Regions from separate parts of the Homo sapiens genome. Here regions 1 and 2 are each linked to region 3. The links are contacts of gene promoters, found by promoter capture Hi-C in human tissues and cell types (Jung and others, 2019). All regions are on one chromosome and are shown on one strand. The core of a region is centred on a gene start or on the middle of the fragment in contact, and the rest is flanking DNA. Distances in the headings are between cores, read along the strand shown. Region 1 overlaps RNF182 (ring finger protein 182). Region 2 has its middle 47 kb from the start of CD83. Region 3 holds the start of DTNBP1 (dystrobrevin binding protein 1).

Region 1 (3,432 bases), core at 779-3,278, 1.7 Mb before region 3:
GGCTATTGGCTATTGTAATAGTGACCAGCTGTCTGTTTTTAGCTTCTGCTGCACACTGTCTCTGCTTTGGCCTAATATATCCTGACTGTTCTTTGCTTTTTTTTTTTTTCCTTTTTTGTTTTTTTGAGATGGAGTCTTGCTCCCATCATCCAGGCTGGAGTGCAATGGTGTGATCTACGCTCACTGCAACCTCCACCTCCCAGATTCAATTGATTCTCCTGCCTCAGCCTCCCTAGTAGCTGGGATTACAGATGCATGCCACCACACCCAGCTAATTTTTGTATTTTCAGCAGAGATGGGGTTTCACCGTGTTGGCCAGGTTGGTCTCAAACTCCTGACCTCAGGTGATCCACCCGTCTTGGCCTCCCAGAGTGCTGGGATTACCTGCGTGAGCCAATGCTCCCGGCCTGTCCTTTGCGTTAGACTACTCTATAATGTTCTTTCTCTGCTTAATGTATCTTGGCTCACTACAAAAGTGTCGTAAGTTTCACTTCTTTCCATGGAGGTTTTCCAGACTAATTATGACCGTCTTCAAGGATACCAACGGCTGAGCTCTTTTTCTCTCAACCACAAATATAGGAAGAATGTATTTATAATTTAAAAGCTTCCCCAAATTCATCATTTCCTGGGCTGATATGAAAGGAAGCCATGCTCTACTTTCTTCCTGCTCTATAGTCAGTAACAAGCACCACCCCCCGCCCCCCACCATACACACACACCCAGGGCAGTACTAATCCCTTTGTTCTACATCTTCACTAGTAAATCACCTGTCCACTGTGTGACCGAATGGAATGAAATGCCACACAGTTTCCACACCAAGGAATCTGTCAGAGGTATTCAAACTAGAGTGACTCCATCTTGCATAGGTGCCTTTTGGGATAGAGTATTTAGAATGTCTGTCACACGGCAAAACTACTTAATATACAATAAATATAAAACTATCTTTCCTAGCAATCTTCTTTTTATGTAAGTATCATTTTGTCTCATTTAAAAAACACTGCAGGCTTTTACTTTATCCTAATCTTCACAGTTGAATATATGTCAATCAACAATGCCACATTATGTGGCTGTGTTGCAAAGTGACACATTCATTAAGATTGATTCTAAAAGGCCTATTGAGAAAAGCCACTGAGGGCAAATAAATTCAATAAAATTTAATCTATAGTTCTTTTTCTTCTTGTCAAGCTTGGATTAAGTCATGTATTAAATGTGGTAGAATATAGAAAGTTTTTAAATTTCCTTTTAAAACCTTTTTGCCCATTATTAATTGAGGCATTTCATTAATTGGATTGGTGACATTTTTGCTGAGTCCGAGTACGGTTGGACCTTGGTGAACAGAAATCTGCTTCATCTCATGAGATGTTGTAGCCATTTTTATTAATGCTGGAGAAGAGATGGTGTATTCTTTAGAATTATGGAAAGTGAGCAAAACGTTTTGGTTTGTGACTTTGTTTTTATTTTAGGATAATATTATAAAAATAATACCTTTGTGGCTTTAACTGTATTTGTAATTTTTAGAACACTGTGAATACTGAGATATTGTAGTGATAACTATTTTGCTAGTATGTAAAGAAACATTTGTGGAAAATTTAAAAGCCTTAAGGACAAAGTATACTTCTTCAGGTTGACATCTGGACATTTACAGAGAAACAATCCTATGAGAATTTTATTCTCTGAATTGTATTAATAGATACTTTTGGTGAGCCTAAACCTGAAGCTGATTGTGGACAAATATTTATCAATTGGAGATTTTAAATGATGAAGACAAAGAATGGAATTCTTTTATTTTTTCAACATGTATTGAGAGCTTCCTAGATGCTATGACTTATAAGTCTTTTATGTTTTTTTTAATGTTTATAGATTTCTTGGGAAGTTCATCTGATTTGATATTTTTATGGACATTTTAGAATGTTAAATTTATAATCTGTTGGGAGGCCGAGGCAGGCAGATCACGAGGTCAAGAGATAGAGACCATCCTGTCCAACATGGTGAAACCCCGTCTCTATTAAAAATACAAAAGTTAGCTGGGTGTGGTGGTGTGCGCCTGTAGTCCTAGCTACTTGGGAGGCTGAAGCAGGAGAATCGCCTGAACCCGGGAGAGGGAGGTTGCAGTGAGCCGAGATTGCACCACTGCACTCCAGCCTGGCAACAGAGCAAGACTCCATCTCAAAATAATAATAATAATAATAAAATCTATAATCTGAAAGTCTACATTATAAAATGTGTAGCATTCAAGAATATTTATCAAGACAAAGTGCTGACTTCACCACACTCAGAAGGGTGTGGTATACCATTCATGGATAGGAAGAGGTGGGAGGAGTCTTGGAGACATTTCAATATATTTATATGGCAGGTATTTATTATCTACTCTGTGCTAGCTTATGATAGGTGCTTGTGCTAGAATGGTAAGCAACATATTAGTGGTTCTTATATTCTTATAATTTACATTTTAGTAGTAGAAATTTAGAACAAACAAATAAGTTAAATTGGGCTTCTTGAAGTTTGTTGAAGGAAGTAAACAGAGTGCCATAATAGAAAATAAGGGGTAAGGGATTTTGAAAACGAGTAATTGGAGAGGACCTCCTTGAGGACTTCATATTGAGATCTGCTGTGGTTTTGGATATTTGTTACTTCTAGACCTCATGTTGAAATTTGACTAGATCTCTCATGAATAGATTAATGCTCTTCTTTGGGGGTGAATGAATTCTTATTCTTGTTAGTTCCCTTGAGAGCTCATTGTTAAAAAGAGCCTGGCACCTCCCCTGTCTCTTGCTTCCTATCTTGCCATGTGATCTCTGCAGATATCGGCTCCCTTTCATTTCTTCCCATGGATAGAAGCAGCCTGAGATCCTCTTCATATGCAGATGTCCAGTCCTGAACTTGCCAGCCAGCCAGAATTCTGAATCAAATAAACCTCTTTTCTTTATAATTTACCCAGCGTCAAGGTATTCCTTTATAGCAACACAAAACAGACTAAGGCAAGATCTCTAAGAAGGAATGAGATTAGTATGACATTTCACATTGAGCAAACAGCCTAAAACATGAAAGACTTTGTACTGTTCATGGAACTTAACAAAGGCCAGGGCGGCAGGAAAACAATAAGTTCAAGACAGGGTTGGAGGGAAGGCAGAGGCCAGATTATACGGTACCTTGCTGTGTAGAGTTTGGATTTTAATCTCTATGTAATGAAAAATGATTTAAGTGTAATAAACGGATGGTAGATATAATCCCATTTACATTTTTAGAAGCTTACTTTGGTTATTGCAATGAAAATAATTTATAGTGGGGCAAGATTAGAAGCATGAAGATAAATTAGAAGGTTCTGCAATGAACAAGGTCAAAACCTGGATTAGGATGTTGATGATGAAGATGGAATGAAATTGGAAGATTGGAAACATACTTTGGTTGAATTGACTGGCTTGCCAATGGATT
Region 2 (3,616 bases), core at 661-3,160, 1.5 Mb before region 3:
AACAAAATAGGGAGACCAAAGGAAAAAAGAAAGCACTAAACAGTAAAAAGGAGTAGGAACTACTTTTTTTTTTTTTTTTTTTGAGACGGAGTCTCACTCTGTCACCAGGCTGGAGTGCAGTGGCACGATCTTTGCTCACCTCCCAGGTTCAAGCGATTCTCCTGCCTCAGCCTCCCGAGTAGTTGGGACTACAGGCAGGAGCCACCATGCCCAGCTAATTTTTATATTTTTAGTAGAGATGGGGTTTCACCATGTTGGCCAGGAAGGTCTCGATCTCTTGACCTCATGATCCACCCTCCTCAGCCTCCCAAAGTGCTGGGATTACAGGAGTGAGACACCATGCCTGGCCAGAAACTACTTTTTCTGGTGTCCCCTGAAGTGTGAATCTTCACTATAAGTAATTGTGCAGTTGATTGTTGCCTGATTCTAAGGAGTGTCACAGTTTATTTATTTATTTGTTTATTTATTTATTGCTTACATGTATTTTCTTGAACATCTGAATTTTCAGAATTCTCTTCTCACTGTGGGCATAAGTGGCTAAATCTTGCTCTGAAATTCACAAAACAAGGTGGAGGCACTCTAATTTCTGATTCATACCAATGGCCTTGAAAGCCCCTAACTCAAGGCCTTGAAAATGCAGGGGACCCGTTTATTAACTGTGTTCTGAATAAATGAACTAAGAAAGTGATGTCAGTGTCATTTCCAGTGATGATAAAGTGAAAACACCCTTGCGTATCCTGCAATAATATAGCCTGGTTTAATGTTTTGCTGGTGGTTCTCACAAATAAGTGACAGGTGCAGAATAGATGTACAAAATCTTAAAACAATTTCTAGACTTGAGAATCATTGTCTTTGGATCTATACACATAACTGAACATGCTTTCAGTGGTCTCTTTTGAGTCTGGTTCTTGATAAACCTGTGGGGTCCCTGAACTAACAGTGGATACTCTCTTCCTCTGGACACCTGAACACGAGAGTCAAGTTTCTGCTACTTGCAGACAAAAGCTTCTTCACTGGTGTGACGTACTGAATTATTCTCCCCAAAATTCATAGGTTGAAGTCCTAATTCCCAATGTGGCTGTATTTGCAGATAAAGCCTTTAAAGAGGTAATTAAAATTAAATGAGGTCATAAGGCTGGGTCCTAATCCAATAGCAGTGGTGTCCTTATAAGAAGAGGAAGAGACCCAAGGATGTGCACACACATAAAAAAGGTCATGTGAGGTCAGGGAGAAGGGGGTCATTTGCAAGCCAAGGAGAGAGGCATCAGGAGAAACCAAACCTATTGACACTTTGATCTTGGATTTCCAGCCTCCAGAACTGTGAGGAAATGAGCTTCACTGTTTTAAGCCATTCAGTATATGGTGTTTTGTTATGGCAGCTGTAACCGACTGATACCACTGGTAACCCCACCTTCGTGACTTTCTTGCCTCTGTTGGAGTTACAGGGGCTTGACCTCCACTTTAGGCTGTTGGCATTAGACTTTCTGCATACGAATGAACTGAGATTCATGACACAAGGGAGAAACCAGGGCCTGGCCCCTGGCTAAAGACTAGGTGATCCATATATGCTTATAGACTATACAGAGAAGAAACTAGTGGGGAGGACTTCATAAAGGGGCCTCTGGAGCTTCTGAAGAAGCAACCTCATGTCTCGATCCAAAGAATAAAGCAAAATTTCAAGGAAGGATGGGAAGTAAGAGAGGTGAGGCAATAAGGGAGAGTAGAGGTGTCTCAGAGGTCATGACGAAAGTGGGTGAAAAACTTCGGAGGTTTTTACTATGAGTGGGTGAGCTAGCTAGTGCCCAGAAAGAAAAGGCAGTGGAGCTTGGAGAAAAGGAATTCTGGTGGCTGGTCTATAAAGGGATCCTGGAGTCTAAAATCATTGTTACTGTGAAACCACAGGCTTGGCATGAGATTTGAGTGTGAATCACTCAAAGGAGGGAGCAAGGGTTACACTCATCTCTGCCAGCACAGAAGCTTCAATTTTCTCTGTACAAGGCCCTGCTTAGTAAAAAGCCACTGAGCAACCCTCCATGTAGCTTCTCATTTTCCCATGCCCATCTCTGGGCATAGTGATGATGGACAGCAAGGGGGCCAGAGTGGCCCAAACACTGGAGAAAAGACCATATTCTACACCATCATAACCACCCTGTTCCTGACCCCAGGGTAAAAACATTAGCAACCAAGGTAGAGAGAGGCTTTAGTTATCATCAGGGCTGTCTTCTTCCCTCATTTTTTCTCTGGCTTACCCTAAGTCATTTCATGGAAGATGCCTGCCCAGGATTTCACACTTCATCTTTCATATAAAATAAACCTAGCTTCATCCTTTAAGGAGTTATCCCCACCTGTTTGCTGTCCTTCCACTTTCCATCCTTGCCAAATTCTCTATTTGCTCCTTTTTGGAATCCTTCTGGTTGCCCCAGCCATGACTGCTGACTGCCCTTACTGCCAAATGCAGCCTTCACGGGCAGTCTGTGTTGTTCAGCTACTTGGAGGAGTTTCTGGGGGGAAGGTCAGCCAGCTGTTTTCTCCACACCAGGAGAGGTTCCAGCTCTGAAGTCATTTTCCTTATGCCACCAACTCACCTGGCTTGCTTTGCAAACACTGGCTGCCCTATTTCATGGCATTGAAATGTCATGAGCCATACCTTGTGCCCTTCAAAGCTGGCTTCTGATGCTTTCTGCATTTGATGCCTTATCTGTAGAAGCTTCACATGCCCTTGGCATTGTTGCACCGTGGCTGAAAACACTGTCTTGGTATTCCAGAATACTTTGTGTCTCCTGTAACTAAACACAGATAAGATTGTCTAATTCTAGCATCATAAGGAAGGATGAAAGAACATAATTTAATAAGAAATGAGTTTGTTAGAAAGAAAGACCTGTTAACACAAGAAGCACAGTCTCGTGTTAAAATGAAGGTAGGCCGGGCGCGGTGGCTCACGCCAGCACTTTGGGAGACCAAGATGGGCAGATCGCAAGGTCAGGAGATCGAGACCATCCTGGCTAACATGGTGAAACCCTGTCTCTACTAAAAATACAAAAAGATTAGCTGGGCGTGGTGGCGGGCACCTGTAGTCCCAGCTACTCAGGAGGCTGAGGCAGGAGAATGGCATGAACCTGGGAGGTGGAGCTTACAGTGAGCCGAGATCGCGCCACTGCACTCCAGCCTGGGCGACAGAGTGAGACTCTGTCTCAAAAAAAAAAAACACAAAAAAACAAAAAAACAAACAAACAAAAAAATGGAGATGGTGGAGAATTTGAGAAGGCTTTCTGGAACCACAGAATTTGCTGTAGTTTCTTAACATCTGAAAGAATAGTTTTAAAGAAAGATAAAAATTGCCACATTAGGGGAGAAATTCTATATATATAGCAGTTTTAAAATATGCATTTGTTTGCACACACAAGTATGAAACCTCTTGGGTTCTTCTTCCTACAATTGCTTTCTATTTCACTCTAACTCAACAGCTGTAAATGGCTTTGGTAAATCATGCTAGTACATTTCCATTAACATTAGCAAAACTTATGTCAACTGCACTGACAACAACTGTCAGCCTTGAAAGACCCTAATCTTCTCTTGCACAGAGAACACACATCTGTGTCACACCTACGGTTTCTCA
Region 3 (3,394 bases), core at 895-3,394:
ATAATGGCCACTCTCATGCTACAAATGGGCCATTTCAGCATCACACCAAAAAGTTTTCAATACAATAATTTACGCTCTGAAAAGAAGGTACTTTTACTAAATAGGGAGAACAAAATGCAAGCACGCAAGCACACCCATCAGTGAATGACTCCGAGCGTCCATAACTTTCTAAACACCAAACTAACAAAAATGATTGACGCATGGTAAGTGCTCAAGCGTTTGACAGTTTGTTATTCAACGCCCAATGTGCAAATAGTATTAACATTTTTGTCCATTAAGATAAAATTTTGGCTAACATCTTTCTCATTAGAAATTTAAAACGAGGCTGGGCGCAGTGACTAATACCCATAATCCCACCACTTCAGGAAGCCTAGGAGGGAGGATCTCTTGTACCCAGGAGTTGGAGGCTGCAGCGAGCTATAATAGCGCCACTGCGCTCCAGCCTGGGCAACAGAGCGAGAACTTGTCACTTTAAAAAAAAGGGGGGGAGGGTGGGCCGGGAACGGTGGCACACGCCTGTAATCCCAGCACTTTGGGAGGCCAAGGCGGGAGGATCACAAGGTCAGGAGTTCGAGACCAGCCTGGCCAATATGGTGAAACCCGTCTCTACTAAAAAATACAAAAATAAGCCGGGCGCCTCTAGTCCCAGCTACTCAGGAGGTGGAGCCAGGAGAATCGCTTGAATCCGGGAGGCGGCGGTTGCAGTGAGCCGAGATCACGCCACTGCACTCCAGTCTGGGTGACAGAGCAAGACTCCATCTCAAAAAAAAGGGGGGTGGGGGGGAGAAATTTAAAACAGTATGAGTGGAAATGTTCTCACATTCAGTGCATCCTCCAACAGGATTTGTAAGCTAAAGTTGAAAGATCCTTTTCAAAGACAGATCTTTTTCACTTTAAAGGAATGAAAAAATTAAAATTAAGCACTAAGTAACAATACTGACATGATGCTTGCTTCGTGTTTTACACATTAATTCATTAATCCTTGTAATAACCTTTTAAGTACCATCATTATCCCCATTTTACGGTAGCGGAAACAGTACATTGAGGCAAGGCAGCTGAGTAACTACGTTTGATTTAGTGGTCGAGCCAGGATGCCTAGGCAATCTGGCGCCAGAGTCTCGGCCTGTGGTTCCCAGGCGTTGGTGCCCACTGGAATCCCCTGGGGATCTTTAAAACGCCGTCTCCAGGCACTCTGGTCAACAGGTAGGGGGTGAGACCTGGGCATCAGAACTCTGAAAGGTTCCCAGGTGATTCTAAGCAAAGTTTGGGAACCGCTGGGTATTAAAAGCATTCCTAAAGTTCTGTCGCTTCTCCTGCTTAGGAGTTCCTTCGCCGAGGCGCTGAGCTCACGGCAAAGGTAGAGAAAGGACGCAACGGGGAGGGGCGGCCAGCCTTGCCAAGGGTTAGGCCGGCGAGCCGGGCGTGAAAGCCGAGACGCGGCGCGGAAGGCTGTGGCCGGAGGGTGCAGGCTGCTGCGCGGTGCGATCCGACTCGGGGAGGGTGGCTGGCCCAGCTCCAGGTGCGCACGAGCAGGTGTCTGCTGGGCCGAGGGGCGCAGGCCACTGTGCCGCGGGGGCGGAAGCGGTGAGGCGCGCTGGCTTCTCACATGACTTCCCTCCAGGGCCCAGCTGATGCTGCCGGGAAAGGACCGCAGGGTCCCACACCCCCCCCGGGCGCTCCGCTGCGCCGCCGAGCGCCTCCCGGTCCTGGGGGGTGCGCGTCACAGGCGGCCCGCAGGGACCTAAGTTACTTTGCGCCGCCCGACGCGAGGACGCCGGGAAGTTCGTTACTTTCCTCGGCGGGGCGGGGCGGGGAGGTGCGGGACAGGACGGACCCTGGACCGTGGCGCGGGGAAGGGAGCGAGGCAGGGGCATCCCAGGCGGCGGCCCGGCCCCCTCAGGTCCCTTTTCGTCGCCCACCGTATACCCACCCGGAGGTGAAATCCTGCTGCACGCTCAGCAGCCGCTCGCGAAGGGTCTCCAGCATTGCCGCCGCCGCCGGTCTCCTCTCCTCAGGCCTCGGGCTGCTGCTGCCTCTGTCGCCCCCTGGGTCCCACGCCGCCAACCCCGCGCTGTCACCGCGCGCCCCGCACTCCCACTACCGGCCCCGCCCCCGGTCTGGTCCTCGCCGCCGCGCCGCAACCCCAGCCCCTTCCGCGTTCCCGCCCCGCGCGCGCCAGGCTCGCGCAGCCGCAGTGGACTGCGCCGGGCTCGGGCTGCGGAAAAGGGGCGGGTCTTCCCCCGACCGAGAGGGCCAGTAGCTCCTCGGCTCATTCCTATCCCGCACCAGGCCTTCTCGTTTTTTTTTTTTTTTCTTTAAAATGGAAGCGGCATCGTGAAAGGATGATTTAACTCGAAGCCTCCTTTGAGGGAAGTGTTGGCTTTTACGTTTTGGAAGAGAATTGGATCTCTCTCTTCAATAGGCGATGTGCACAAATCATTGCATGGATTCTAGGTCCAGGATCTGACCCCACTGGCTTTCACCTTGAATGAGACAGTCAAATATTGAGCCTCGGTTTCTTCATTCATAAAATGGCAATAATAGTCGACTGTCTCGACATTCTTACTTTCCACTCTCTCTTTACCCCCCCAGGCTTTTGTGCCCTACACACCAAAGGTGATCGCCTTTCGCGAGTCACCAGTGACTTCCATGTTGCTGATGCCTTTTATTACTTCTCTGCCCTGATTTTTTCTCCACCTCTCAGTGGCTTTCAATGCAGTTTATCATCCCCATCCTTAAAACACTTTCTTCTCTTGCTAAGCACTCCATAGTTCCTCTCTCCCTTCCGCTCCACCCCTTCTCCTATTTTAATAGCCACTCCCAAGGCTACAGTCCAGCCTCCCCAGCTCTTCTCTCTTCTCCAGATGTGTTGTTCCATAGATGGATAGCATAGAGTCTATCCATTACCACGCTGTAAATTCTGTCAAGGAACCGATGACTCCCACAGCTCTATCTTCTGCCCTGTCCTTCCTCCCTCTCCGTCAATTCATACCAGTTGCTTACTCATGTAAGCATGTATACAACATGTATCCAAAAGGCATCTCAGACCAACATACACAAAATTGAAAATTTCATTCATTGCATGTTCACCTTTAATCTGCTCATCCTGTATTTTCCGTTTCAGTAAATGACACCACCATCCACCAATTTGCTCAAGGTAAGACACTTGAAATCACCTCTGGTTCCCCTCTTTTCCTCATTCCCCATATTAACCCATCAAATCCAATCAACTCTACTCCTGAAGTATTTCTGGAACCTCCTTCTCTTTCTATATCTTCACTATATTTATCCTGGTCGAAGGCACCATCCTCTTTCAATGGGAACACAGACAGTTCTTCCAGATTCTACTCTTTTGCCATACACACCCCTATAATCCATCCTTGACACAGCAGCC

The links. Contacts are between HindIII fragments. The study calls those that stand out against the background at their distance.
Region 1: a contact is called between a fragment that was not itself captured here and the fragment with the promoter of DTNBP1 in region 3, in 1 of the 25 tissues and cell types used here (dorsolateral prefrontal cortex).
Region 2: a contact is called between a fragment that was not itself captured here and the fragment with the promoter of DTNBP1 in region 3, in 1 of the 25 tissues and cell types used here (dorsolateral prefrontal cortex).

What each region holds. Positions count from the first base shown.
Region 1 is chr6:13,956,217-13,959,648 of GRCh38, forward strand. All of the region lies in intron 1 of RNF182 (ring finger protein 182), which reads left to right. Among named protein-coding and RNA genes, the nearest start is that of RNF182, 33 kb to the left of the region's middle. The HindIII fragment of the contact is 5,227 bases long and covers 1-3,432 here.
Region 2 is chr6:14,163,395-14,167,010 of GRCh38, forward strand. No RefSeq gene overlaps it. Among named protein-coding and RNA genes, the nearest start is that of CD83, 47 kb to the left of the region's middle. The HindIII fragment of the contact is 4,942 bases long and covers 1-3,616 here.
Region 3 is chr6:15,660,884-15,664,277 of GRCh38, forward strand. DTNBP1 (dystrobrevin binding protein 1) reads right to left here and starts at 2,145. Exons shown (of 10, transcript NM_032122.5): 1 at 1,931-2,145. The coding sequence starts at 1,986. RefSeq lists an enhancer at 1,352-1,401 and a silencer at 1,632-2,141. The HindIII fragment of the contact is 6,257 bases long and covers 1-3,394 here.